2 separate regions of the Homo sapiens genome follow, and region 2 is linked to region 1. The links are contacts of gene promoters, found by promoter capture Hi-C in human tissues and cell types (Jung and others, 2019). All regions are on one chromosome and are shown on one strand. Each heading gives the region's core, a stretch centred on a gene start or on the middle of the fragment in contact. The rest is flanking DNA. Distances are from core to core; before and after follow the strand shown. Region 1 holds the start of RB1 (RB transcriptional corepressor 1). Region 2 overlaps HTR2A (5-hydroxytryptamine receptor 2A).

What was found. The method cuts DNA at HindIII sites, captures the fragments that hold promoters and counts their contacts. A contact is called where the count stands out against the background at its distance.
Region 2: a contact is called between a fragment that was not itself captured here and the fragment with the promoter of RB1 in region 1, in 1 of the 25 tissues and cell types used here (lymphoblastoid cells).

The regions. Positions count from the first base shown.
Region 1 is chr13:48,299,766-48,306,059 of GRCh38, reverse strand. It overlaps RB1 (RB transcriptional corepressor 1), which reads right to left and starts at 2,309. Exons shown (of 27, transcript NM_000321.3): 1 at 2,011-2,309. The coding sequence starts at 2,147. RB1-DT (RB1 divergent transcript) reads left to right here and starts at 2,358. Exons shown (of 3, transcript NR_046414.2): 1 at 2,358-2,769; 2 at 3,568-3,721. RefSeq lists enhancers at 1,298-1,367, 1,608-1,657, 1,732-2,455, 2,456-3,181 and a silencer at 1,868-2,157. The HindIII fragment of the contact is 21,400 bases long and covers 1-6,294 here.
Region 2 is chr13:46,835,277-46,841,570 of GRCh38, reverse strand. It overlaps HTR2A (5-hydroxytryptamine receptor 2A), which reads left to right. Exons shown (of 4, transcript NM_000621.5): 4 at 5,932-6,294. Among named protein-coding and RNA genes, the nearest start is that of HTR2A-AS1, 14 kb to the left of the region's middle. The HindIII fragment of the contact is 4,018 bases long and covers 1,393-5,410 here.

The DNA.
Region 1 (6,294 bases), core at 1,060-3,559:
AAGCTCATGTGATCCTCCTGCCTCAGCCTCCTGAGTAGCATGGACTACAGGTACGCGCCATCACACCCAGCTCGAAACATGATTAACCTTTGATTATTTCAACAATGAATGTGGTATGCTGTTCCTAGTGACAGTTTCCCTTCCAGCTACATTACTTAGGCCAGAGATAAGGCAACAGAAATAAGATCTAAACTCTCAAATCAGGAATGGAATCTGTCACTGGAGGTGCAGTTGGACTGAGCCTTGATTCCATCTCCAGGCAAGATGCTCAGTATCAGACTGCACGGCAGCGGTTCTACCCTTGCTGGTTAATTTATAGAGTTCAACTGTCTATGTTAATGAAACCCTTTGTGGGTATGGATAATCAAGAACAGACTGTATCTTGTATGGTTTTGACTTATAAGAGAATTTTTTATAGTTCCATTACTTAAAATATATAAAATGAGTTAAAAAATGAAAGAAACAGTCCTCTTTTTTCCAAGCAGTGGCCACAACGTCAATATTCCTGGTTACCCTACATTAGAGTATGCTTCCAAAGCTGTGTGCATAACATGGAATTCTTTAGAGTAGCCATTACTGCATTTTCCCAAGGGAAATTTGCAAGAATTGGATACATCAGAATTTAATCAGAAACTAAAGCCATGTCTTTTCCCAGAACATGCCCCAGACGTGGTTTTTAATTTTTTGTTGTTGTTATTTTGGTTTTTTAACGAATATGGTTTTTAACTGACCTATAAGACAGTCCATTTAAATATATAAATTTTTAATAGCCTTCCAGGGGCCATTTCCTAAATCCCACTTCAATCTTTTCTGCCGTGAATTGTTAGTGTATACCGAGTGGAAAGAAATGGGTGAGGGTGAAAGGATTTGGTGATAGACAAGAATGGGAGAGAAAATAGTGAAAAACAGAAACAAGTCCCATTCCCTCTGCAATGAACTTGTCTCAAAGTAGAACCAGTGCTGACAATAATGACAATTACACTCTTTCAATCATAGCTATTTAACCATAAAGTAGAAAAATCAAGAAAAGTAAGATGTTGTAATACAATAAATACTTCCCTTCAAGATCTAGTGCATTCGTATGGACTTGCTTAAATTTAGATTCCACTTAATAAGGGAAAACGAAAATTTCCATTTGCGCACAGAACCACTAATTTTGTGCCAAAAACAAAGGCAAAAAGAGGGGACACCAAGATCCTTGCTGGTTCAAAGTCAAAAGGCAAAATGGAAGAAATAATGAGACAAGCCGAAGCCGACTAACACGCAAGAAGAGTTCATCAAACAGGAAAAAAAAAAGTTTAGAAACTTTCAAGCACTTCTGGTAAATGTCTCATGAAAGTTTTGCCCATGTTTCAGTTCCTCTAAAGAGTTACGCTCCATCAATCACTACAGATGGCTTTGAGTCCCCAAGGCCTCGATGCATTATTGTTCTAAGGAAACGCCGCAAAGCTCCTGAGCCGAGTATCCTGTGGGCAATGGACACTCAGGACCCTGCGCTTCTTGTCCAAGGCTTTCTGGTCGGCCTCTCCCACAAATGGACTTCAGATGCAGTGCACGCCCGGAAGAAAATACTTCCCAACTGTTGCATCGCGTGAACCAAAACAGAAAGTCAGACGACCACCGGAGTACTCCAATTCTCCGGTGAAAAACTCTCCCACAGACACCATTTTTGTATTTTTATTTTTCATTTTTTGCGTCTGATGGACGCTCGCAACGACCCTCTGCCTCCGAGCCTCACAAGAGGGAACTGCACCTGTCACTTCGCTCAGGACCCTAGCCCCACCCGCCCGACACCTGTCAAGTTGAAGCCGAGACCCCTCGCCCAAGAACCCAGAATCCTGTCACCATTCTGCAGACGCTCCGCCGTGGCGGGGGGCAGGGAGGGCGCCTCCTCCCGCCGGGACCCGGCCCCTGGCGAGGACGGATCCCCGCCGAGCCGCCTTGGCGCCCGCCCTACGCACACCCGGGGCGCCCTTCCCGCGTGAGGCGACGGCGGCTCTGCTCGCTCACCTGACGAGAGGCAGGTCCTCCGGGCCGCTGTCCTGCTCTGGGTCCTCCTCAGGAGGGGGCGGCGGCGGCGGTGCCGGGGGTTCCGCGGCGGCAGCGGCGGCGGTGGCGGCCGTTTTTCGGGGGGTTTTGGGCGGCATGACGCCTTTCCGCGGCGGGAGCCAGCGAGCTGTGGAGGAGCGCCGGGGAGGACGACGCGCGCGCACGTCGGGGCACGCCCCGTCCTCTCCCGACTCCCGTTACAAAAATAATTTCAACGTCCCCTGAGAAAAACCGGACGCGCCCTCCCCCGCCCGGCAACTGAGCGCCGCGTCCAACCGCGGGAAAACGTCACTTCCGCCCGCGGCGTCACGTCCGCGAGGCTCCCGGGCCCGCCGGCGTCTGTGGGGAACTGGGGCGCTGGTCGGTGCGCGGGCTGGGACGCTAAGTCATGAGGAATTAAACTGGGAAACCTGGCGTGGGTCCAGGCGCCTTCCAGGAGGCATCCGGCGCGGCCCGGACGTGCTTCTACCCAGAACCACCCCCTCCAGGCCGGGGTGCACTTAACGGGGCTATACAAAGAGTCTGGTGGGTGACTGTGGGCCTCATCCCTATCCCGGGGTCTGATAGGGAAGACTCTCGGGCCCCGCAGGGAATATCTGGCTAGTGCACCCTCGGCGGGAGCGCCACTCTCCCTCCTTGGGCGGCGCCCCCCACCTCTCATCCCGCCCAATCCGTTTTGCAAAGTCGGCCAAAACAAAAACAAACTTGGAGCGCTGATAGGTGCGGAACTTTACCAGTCACTTAGAAGATAGAAAATGTTAGACACTTGCTGGCCTTTTGGGATCACTGGTTAGGGAAAGGAAGGGAGGGAGCTGTGGGGAATGAACGGATAGTAGTGTAATAAAGGATTGTAGTGGTGTAAGAACGGGAAGCACCGTGGAAACGTCTGAGGAAGATTTTCAGGGGAGCAGTAGCTGCTGAATAGAAGTCTGTCAGGCAGGCCTGACATTTACTATGTACCAGGAACTGTGCTGGCCACCTTACATAATTGTCTTATTTAATCCCCAGAAACAGCCTTTTTTTTCTTTTTCTTTCTTTCTTTTCTTTTTTTTTTTTTTTTTTTACTTTAAGTTCCGGGATACAAGTGCAGAACGTGTAGGTTTGTTACATAGGCATACGTATGCCATGGAGGTTTGCTGCACCTATCAACCCGTCATCTAGGTTTTAAGCCTTGCATGCATTAGCTAAGAAACAACGCTTTCCAATGGGTAGTATTAGCTAGTCTACGTTGCAGATGAGGAAACAGGCTCAGAGGAGTTAATTTGTCCAATACCAGGGCCGATGGGTAGCAGAGAATTTGAACTCAATTCTATTTGATTCCACTTGTCCATTATATTATGTTTGATGAAGAAAACAGTGACAGAGAAGGAGCATGTGCAAAGGCACAAAGACATCAGAAAAGAGCTTGCTGGGACTACCACCATCAAACATTGGCTTAAAGCTGTTATCACTTCTGTGTCTCGGTATTTGTACCAATAGATTATCTAGTTTGAATACATTTTTTTTTCTCTTTGGCAGACACTGTTATTGCCCATCTGAACTCGTCAACTGAGAAGGAAAGAGATGGTTTATGCTGTGAATAAAATACAGTTGTGCTGTGATGTAAATCCCCTCATCCTGGAGCAGCTGAGCAAGGTCTAAGGCAGGAAGAACCTTCAAGCAGGTCATGGCTGTAAGCCTCCTGAGTTTATCCCAGCAAGTTGTATAAGGGATTATCTTTTTATCTGCATATTATGACATATGTGAGGATGTGTAAAGGTTTGGCAAGCACTGGCCTACTCAACAGCCAGTCCTACCTAACTTCAGAAATCTTTCTTGTGGGCAAATGTCAGGAGATAGGGCCCAGGCCCAGGTCCAGCTACAAAGAATGAATACAATTAAAGTGCTACTTCCATTCACCTCACCCCAGATTAGTTTAGGCAAGAGCTCAGGATGCAGTTTTGACATTTGAAAGATAAGGAGTAGTCTGCTGGGAGCCTGATAAATTGAAACAGGGATGGCACAGTTCTAAATATTATTAAATAATAGTAATAATATTAAGTATTACTGAGGATGTGACACTTCTGATTGCTGCAGCCATTGTAACGTGAGGCAAGCCAACCTACAGAGAAGGTAGAAATGCTGATATTGGTGCAGGAGGAATTTCAAAAGAATCTGGATCCTCAGTGTTATAAATGAGCCTCTGATTTGGCCAGCCCTGGAGCTGACCTAAGCTGAGCTGAGGTTTTCACTTGTTTGCAACAGAAAGCATCATGACTGATAATGTTTCTCCTGTGCTTATCTTCAGGATAGAGACCAAATCTTGGGTATCATCATTGCCTTAGTACCTAGCACAGTGTTACACACACAGTAAATGCTTGCTTACTAAAAGTAGGGATGGCAGGAAAGTGAAGGAAAGTTCTAGGAACTGAAGTAAACTCTCTTCATACGTAGATATCACTTGCTTTATTTAAAACCAGTTTATCAACATCTAGATTACATTTATGTAATCTAGATTTATTTATTACCATATTACAATTATGATAAAGAGATTTCTCAATTTACAAAAGAATATATGTCTTGACCATGGATTAATTTAACTATGTTCACTAGTATGTAAAATATATTTTCCTGCAGCCATAAAAAGGAATGAGATCATGTCCTTTGCAGGAACATGGATGGAGCCAGAAGCCTTTATCCTCAGCAAACTAACGCAGGAACAGAAAACCAAACACTGCATGTTCTCACTTATAAGTGGGAGCTAAACAATGAGAACACATGGACATGAAGAGGGGAACAACACACACTGGGGGATTACTTGAGGGTGTAGGGTGAGAGGACAGAAGATCAAAAAACTACCTATCAGGTACTACACTTGTTACCTGGGTGGTGAAAAAATCTGTACACACCAAACCCCAGAGACACACAGTTTACCTATATAACAAACTTGCACATGTATCCCTAAACCTAAAATAATAGTTTGAAAAAAGTGTGGTGTATATATCATAATATATACACATAAATAGATACACACACACACACACACACACACACACACACACACATACACACATACATACCATAAAATAGACCCAGGAAGGGGAACAACACACACTGGGGCCTGTAGCGGGGAAGGGTGGGGAGAGGGAGAGCATCAGGAGAGCTAATGGATGCTGGGCTTAATACCATGGTGATGGGTTGATCTGTGCAGCACACCACCATAGCACACATTTACCTGTGTAACAAACCTGCACATCCTACACATATACCTGGGAGCTTAAAAGTTGAAGGAAAAAATAATAAAATATATTTTCATCCACACAACTCAGAAGCAATTGAGTTCACCATCAAAATCTTTAGTTTTCTGTTGCATTACCAAAGAAGTATTAGAATTTCGGCAGAGTCTAGACCAGGTACGGTGGCTCACGCCTGTAATCCCAGCAGTTTGGGAGGCCAAGGCGGGTGGATCACCTGAGGTCAGGAGTTTGAGACCAGGCTGGCAAACATGGTGAAACCACATCTCTACCAAAAATACGAAATTAGCTGAGTGTGGTGGCAGGTGCCTGTAATCCCAGCTACTCTGGAGGCTGAGGCAGGAGAATCACTTGAACCCAGGAGGCAGAGGTTGCAGTGAGCTGAGATCATGCCACTGCACTCCAGCCTAGGCGACAAGAGCAAGACCCCATCTCAAAAAATATATATATATATATATATATATATATATATATATATTTCAGCAGAGTCTTAAAAAAATTCCCCCTGAACTTCTTGAAATTCATGGATCTCTTCCAACCTGCTTGGTAATTTTAAGAAGATTGCTGTAAGACTCCTACAAAAAATATATGTATTTCTTAGATTTTCTATCTAGAGAGGGAACTCTCTTCAGTTTGAGACTCCTTCAGTGATATTAAAATTTGGGGAAGGGTCTAAAAAGTCTTCATCGTTCTAAAAAGCCTTCCTTCAAAGTTTTTATACCCCCAAGCTACCACACTATTTCCATTTCTTAACCATCTAGCTTCTTAGAAGGGTAGTCCCCATTGGTTCTCTCTGCTTCCCCAATTTCTCAGCCTGCTGGCCCCTGGCTTTCTTTCACTACCACCAAGAGCCCCCTTCTGAAATCACTCTTTCAAATGTCACTGATGATAGTTGTCAATCCCATGGCTTCTTTTGGTCCTCAACCTACTTGACCTTTCTTGCAGTCAATATAGTTAACCACTTCCTCTTAAAAATTCCCTAGTCTTCCACAAATCTATGGTCTCCTTGTTC
Region 2 (6,294 bases), core at 2,152-4,651, 1.5 Mb after region 1:
GCCTGGGCATTTATATTTTTTAAAGTACTAACATCAGAACCCCCGAGAATGAGGCTCAGGCAATGTAACTTTTAAAACTCCCTCAGTGATTCTAATGTGCAGCTACAGTTGAGAATAACTTCCCTAGTATTTGAAAGAAACTAAATGTTGATTATAAGGATTTTATTTTTGAACTATTTTTCTGGCCTCAATGAATTTAATGTCTGGCTAGAGGAACTTGTGGCTTTGAGATGAAAGAATGCAAAAACAAAATCAAGGTACAGAAAATCACTGGTGGGGGTGGTGGAGAGAGAGAGAGAGTTTGTGCTGTACATGCAACATCGGCGTATTAGTCTGTTCTCACACTGCTATAAAGAAATGCCCAAGACTGGGTAATTTATAAAGGAAAGAGGTTTAATTGACTCACAGTTCCACATGGCTGGGGAGGCCTCAGGAAACTTACGATCATGCCAGAAAGGGAAGCAGGTGCATCTTACATGGTGGCAGGTGAGAGAGAGCGTGGGAAGGAGGAACTGTCAAACACATAAAACCATCAGATCTCGTGAGAACTCTCACTATCACGAGAACAGCATGGGAGAAACCTCCCCATGATCCAATCACCTCCCACCAGGTCCCTGTCCCGACATGTGGGGATTATGAGGATTACAATTCAAGATGAGATTTGGGTGGAGACACAGAATGAAACCATATCAATTGGTGTAATTTAGTGCTTATTAGTCATATTAGGGGCTAGAATTTTTCTGCCCATCTAAGGAAAGATCTATCTCCAAGGAAATATACATATATACAAATTTTTCAGATTTTAGGATTATCATAGACTTCCTGAAGCCAATGTTAAAAACCTCAGAGGTAGTCATAGACTTTTGTAACTACCTTCAAAGGAACAAATAAGCAGTTTTTAAAAATCCACCATAAGAATTAAGAACCCTGAGTAGAGGTCTTGATTTTGCCCCCAACTTTCTGTGTGATTCTAACTAAATTACTTAAGCTTGGTAGGCCCAAGTTTTCATATCTGTAAAGTGAGATTTTCATCTGCCCCATAAGAAGGTGTGGGTAATGTTTTAACAATTTTGTAAAAATCAATTTAGAGTGAATAAACAAATATGTGTGATAATACCTTGAAAAGTTGCAATTTATTATCAGAGCTATTTGGAATTAATCTGAGAAAAAGAAACATACAGCTTTTGGGTAACTGACATGTTTGTGTAGCTCTCATTTTTATGTACATCTGCCTTGTCAACACACCATACATAGATTAGAAGGAATTTAGCCACTCTGTATCAGGATAGTGAGTCCCATTGGCAGTTGCCCTATATATTCAATTCTTCTTTCCCTGTAATATGAGGATTATCCTGCAGTGTTTACCAGTGGTGTCTTCTGTCAAACTACTAGTAAATTTGTTCTTATAACTTGAAAAATACAGCATGCATTAAAATTCAAAGAAAAGGTAGCAGTTTGGGGAAACAGAAACCTATGAACCCAAATTTCAATCTTTTTCACAAGAGCCCCGAAATAACTTCTCTGCCCTCCACCTCCTTTCCAGCTGAGGGCCCTAGGGACTGCCACTGTCCTGTTCCCTACAAGAGAATGGTTATCTAGGAAGGCAATCTTCTTATTTCCCAAGAAATGTACACTGTCTCAGAAAAAGTCCAAGATTAAGAATAAAGCCAGTCCTTCACAGCCAGCGGTTCAAAGTGAATTATTGATGCAGCCTGTGGTAAGATGTTAACTAGAGGTGCAAAGTTTATGTGCAGGAAGTAAGCAGAGCCATGCTGAAAGAAAGACACCAACCAAAGCTTTTGTGTTCTTAGGTGTCAAGGTTTCCCATTCATTTTATTGTCTGAGTTTCAATGGAAATGAATAAAATGCTACATAGAGGATCTAATACTGATAGTGAATTTTGACTGCTGTTTTCCACTCTTCAGAAAAAATATATTAAACAAAATGCAGAGTCATGTAATTCAGGTTACTGTCTGTTTTGTTCATAAAGGAAAATGCTTTATATGCAGAAATTTCAAGTGAGAGGAGATGTCAGGTCTCCAAAAGCAGCTATTGTCAAACAAAGCAGCCAGATAATTAATGCCCTAGAGATGGCTGTGACCACGATATTGGATATCAGCCCATGTCTTCATCTCTCTTGGTAGAGGCACATGCTTTTGAGCTGCTGATTGTACCCACAAAGCCTATCTATGTGTTCTAAGTTTTTTGACATAAAATTTCCTCTCCTCTTTATAGAGTATTACTTTAACTTTCTGGTTATTCTTTCTACAACCCTTGCTGACCAGATACTATGAGTGAGGCATGGAAAAAGAATGGTATACGATAGTATTCAGGATGTTTTTGTTATATGTAAAGATGAATAGGCCATTTAAATAACTGATCAGCTTGATTCTCCACTTCCAAATTAATATCCCCCTTCCAGACAGAACAGCTCTGCGTGTAACCTCTTACCACATCCTCTTGTAGAGTGGCTTTTTATCCCGGGCATTTAAGAGAGGGATTCTCTATTTCAGTGCAGATGACTCCATCACCCCTCTCAGAAACTGGGCTATTCTGTAAGGGTGTGTGTGTGTGTGTGTGTGTGTGTGTGTGTATGTGTGTGTCCAACCAAAGACACTATTCCAAATAATTAAAGAATTTGGCATTTTAGGTAAGCCCACATTCTGGTTAATTGAGAATTGCCACTTATGTACATTACTAGGTTATAAGCAAATAGGGCAAAAGGCTCTCAAGGTAGTTACTTCCTTTGTATTAATTAGAAAAAGAACACTCAAGAGTTTAATAACAAAATCACACACCTTTTTTGGACGGTTGATATCTTGTTTCTGTGTATCATGACTAATAGTAATGCTGTAATTCATCACATTAGGAAAGTAATCAACAGTTCTAGCTGCACAAAATTAAAATTGATTAAGACCCGGCGTCACCCTGGCAGAAGCTAAAATTACATCAGTGTTAACTCTACGGCCAATAGCCAAAAGTCTTTTTAGTCTCTTTTGGTTTAAAAAGATCTGCTATATAAAATCTAGTGTATACAAACTAAGCAAAATGGATTAGAATAAAATAATGTTGATATATTTAATATAAATAGTTCTGCAGAGAAAGCTACTCTCATGTTTATTGACCACTGGTAGAACATCACTATGGACTGGGTGCTGTGCTAGGTGCTCTGCAAATTTGATCCATTTTATCCTCACCAAATGCATGAAGGTATGTTGGTGCCAGCCTCCCACGATAGATGAAGAAGTGGGGACTATAGGAATGAAGTAACCAATTCAGGAGCCCAGAGCCACAGCCAAGACTCAAATCCAGGGATGTCTCAAATGGTTGAACAAAGCATCCTTTCTAATCAATGAGCAACTGTGCTGTCTAAGAAGACCTTGTACATGAGTACAGGAAATATCTTTCACAGATCTAGATTCAAACACTGGGAGAAAAACACTCTTCTTAGAAATCATGCCCTTACTTTTACAATCAAGAGTTTTCCGAAGGATAAGCAAAACTGGTCAATATCCAGGGTCTCAGAGGATGTTCTCCTTGGAGGCACAGCTCATCAATCTCTTCTTGAATGTTGCAAACAATGGGCCAGGAACAGAGAGGGATGGAGGAAATGAAGAGTCATTAGCCACAATAAGTGTCCTTATGAACAGCTCTGATGTCATTTATCTCCACCTTCCAAGAATCCTGGATGGGCTTGCATAGGCAAGTGACAAATATTGTTAATTAAGTCTTTGAAGATAATGGCAAATGTCACTAAGAAAGATTTGTGTTGAATATTACATCAACTCAGCGTTCTTTCCTGGCCACGATGGCCAATGTGAGGTGACATGAGGTTAGGACAGTCATGCCTGTGCTTGGATGAAGCGGAACTCTGTTCTGAGTATGCAGAAGTTAGATTAGAGATTCTCCAAAAACCTTTTTCCAGATGGATGGCAAGAGTGAGGCAGTGGCCCCCAATTCTGGAATAAACCGGTGTTCTTGGCTGGTGTGAGACCATGTATTAGACTCTAAAGACGGTCAGAAGCAGTAACCACAACACTCTTTGTTCTACAATTCTGAGTGTGCTGATAATATGGGCAGGAGTTAGAAGGGAACTATTTTTCTGACTTTTTCTCCCAGGCTGTCCCTGCAATATCTACCATTTCATGAAAGAAACAATCTTAAACTAAGTTATACAGAGTACTTGATTCATGTTTCCTCTCTTTTTTATCATCCTGATTCTACCTTTATGGCAGAGAGAATAAGCCATCTCATGATTGCCTTGGACCAACCATCCCAGGCCAGTAGAGAAAGATACACCTATTTCCCCAGGAGCAGAGAGGTTGTCCATGGTGGGGGCTGGGTGGTGAAACTGCACAACATGGCCAGTTGAATCTTCCTTTAAAAAGGTCCTATCATCAAGTGGGGCACATAGCATGATTAGAGGCCAGGGGTTGCCTTTATTCACTTCTGCTTCCTCCTCTGCCTAATCCCTGTACCTGAGGGAGCCTTACAGATCCCCCAAATCTGGGTGATGGAGCAATGAACCATATAGGCCCATGTTCCCCTGTATTATCTCATCCTATACCTACTTTTTATATTTGTCAATAAAAAGTCTATGGCTGTCTTGTTTTTTGCAATCCATCCTTATGAATGCTCTACTACTAAAAACATAGAACAACCTTTATGGGACAATTGGAAATTTGAACACTAACTCTACATTTAATATTAAGGAAATATTAAACTTCTATTTAGGAGTGAGAATGGTATTGTGAAAATATTAGGTTTGTCTAAGAGTGCATGGCTTTTAGATCTACGTAATAAATATTTTCAGATTGAATGACATGATGTCTAGGATTTGCTTCATAATAACATGGGAGGGATGGCAGCCAGAGGACATATGGATGAAACAAGATTGGGCTTGAGCTGATAATCTTTGAAGCTGGGTGACGAGTTCACTGTACTGGGTTTGGTTTTTGGTTTGTTAGTTGTGTGTATGTTAAAAATGTCCCATAATAAAAGCTTTTTTAAAAAGAATTAAAATTGGTTATTTTAAATTAATATTAGAAAATTGTATTTCTCAAAAATATTTTATGTGCAATTATCATGATTTATAATGTTAAATGGAATAGGAAGATCTAAAACATATAAGGTACAAAGTACTGCATGTAAAGTACTGCATATACACATTTGCTTTTATATGTACATGTAAGTGGAAGAAGAAATGATGCAAATGTAAATTATGGTTGCCCCTGACTGGTGAGAATACATATTATTTTTCTTTATTCATTGTTACATTTTTGTACCTCCCAAATTTTCTAGAGAGAAAATAAACTATATTTAAAATTTTATAGTTATTTTTATATATAAGCCATGCTTGTGACATATTATTAGATTTTTTAAAAAAGATACAGAACTATTTGTGAAAAAGAACCTCAATTCTGTTTTAAAATGTGTGCACATGGTAAGTGTGTGAATGTATCTAAAATGAACAGCATCAAAAAAAGAAACAAATCTATATTCTAGATTTTCATAGACAAAAATAAATAAATATATAAATAAATAAAATGAACAGCATCAGTTGTTAATTGTGGCTATCTCTAGATGGTGACGTTATTGGACAATTTTTAGTTTATTTGCCTCTCTGTGTGTTTCTTCAATTAATAAGTATAATATTATAATCAGAAAAATGTGGCATAAAAAATAAAGCTAGATTTATTATACTTCTTTATAAGGGTTAGCTATATAGGGCAATATAACATACAAGTAACTACATAATATATACTTACAAAACACATATGTAAGTCCAAAGGAATTTTAAATTCTCAAAGTATGTTAAGCTTTTAAACGATGATATAAAATCTTTTCAATAGCCAATATTATGTGATGATGCTCTTGCCTTCATATACTTAATTCCTTAATAATCATGTTTCATTTTCTGTTCAACTCCAGGTATATCCATGCCAATACCAGTCTTTGGGCTACAGGACGATTCGAAGGTCTTTAAGGAGGGGAGTTGCTTACTCGCCGATGATAACTTTGTCCTGATCGGCTCTTTTGTGTCATTTTTCATTCCCTTAACCATCATGGTGATCACCTACTTTCTAACTATCAAGTCACTCCAGAAAGAAGCTACTTTGTGTGTAAGTGATCTTGGCACACGGGCCAAATTAGCTTCTTTCAGCTTCCTCCCTCAGAGTTCTTTGTCTTCAGAAAAGCTCTTCCAGCGGTCGATCCATAGGGAGCCAGGGTCCTACACAGGCAGGAGGACTATGCAGTCCATCAGCAATGAGCAAAAGGCATGCAAGGTGCTGG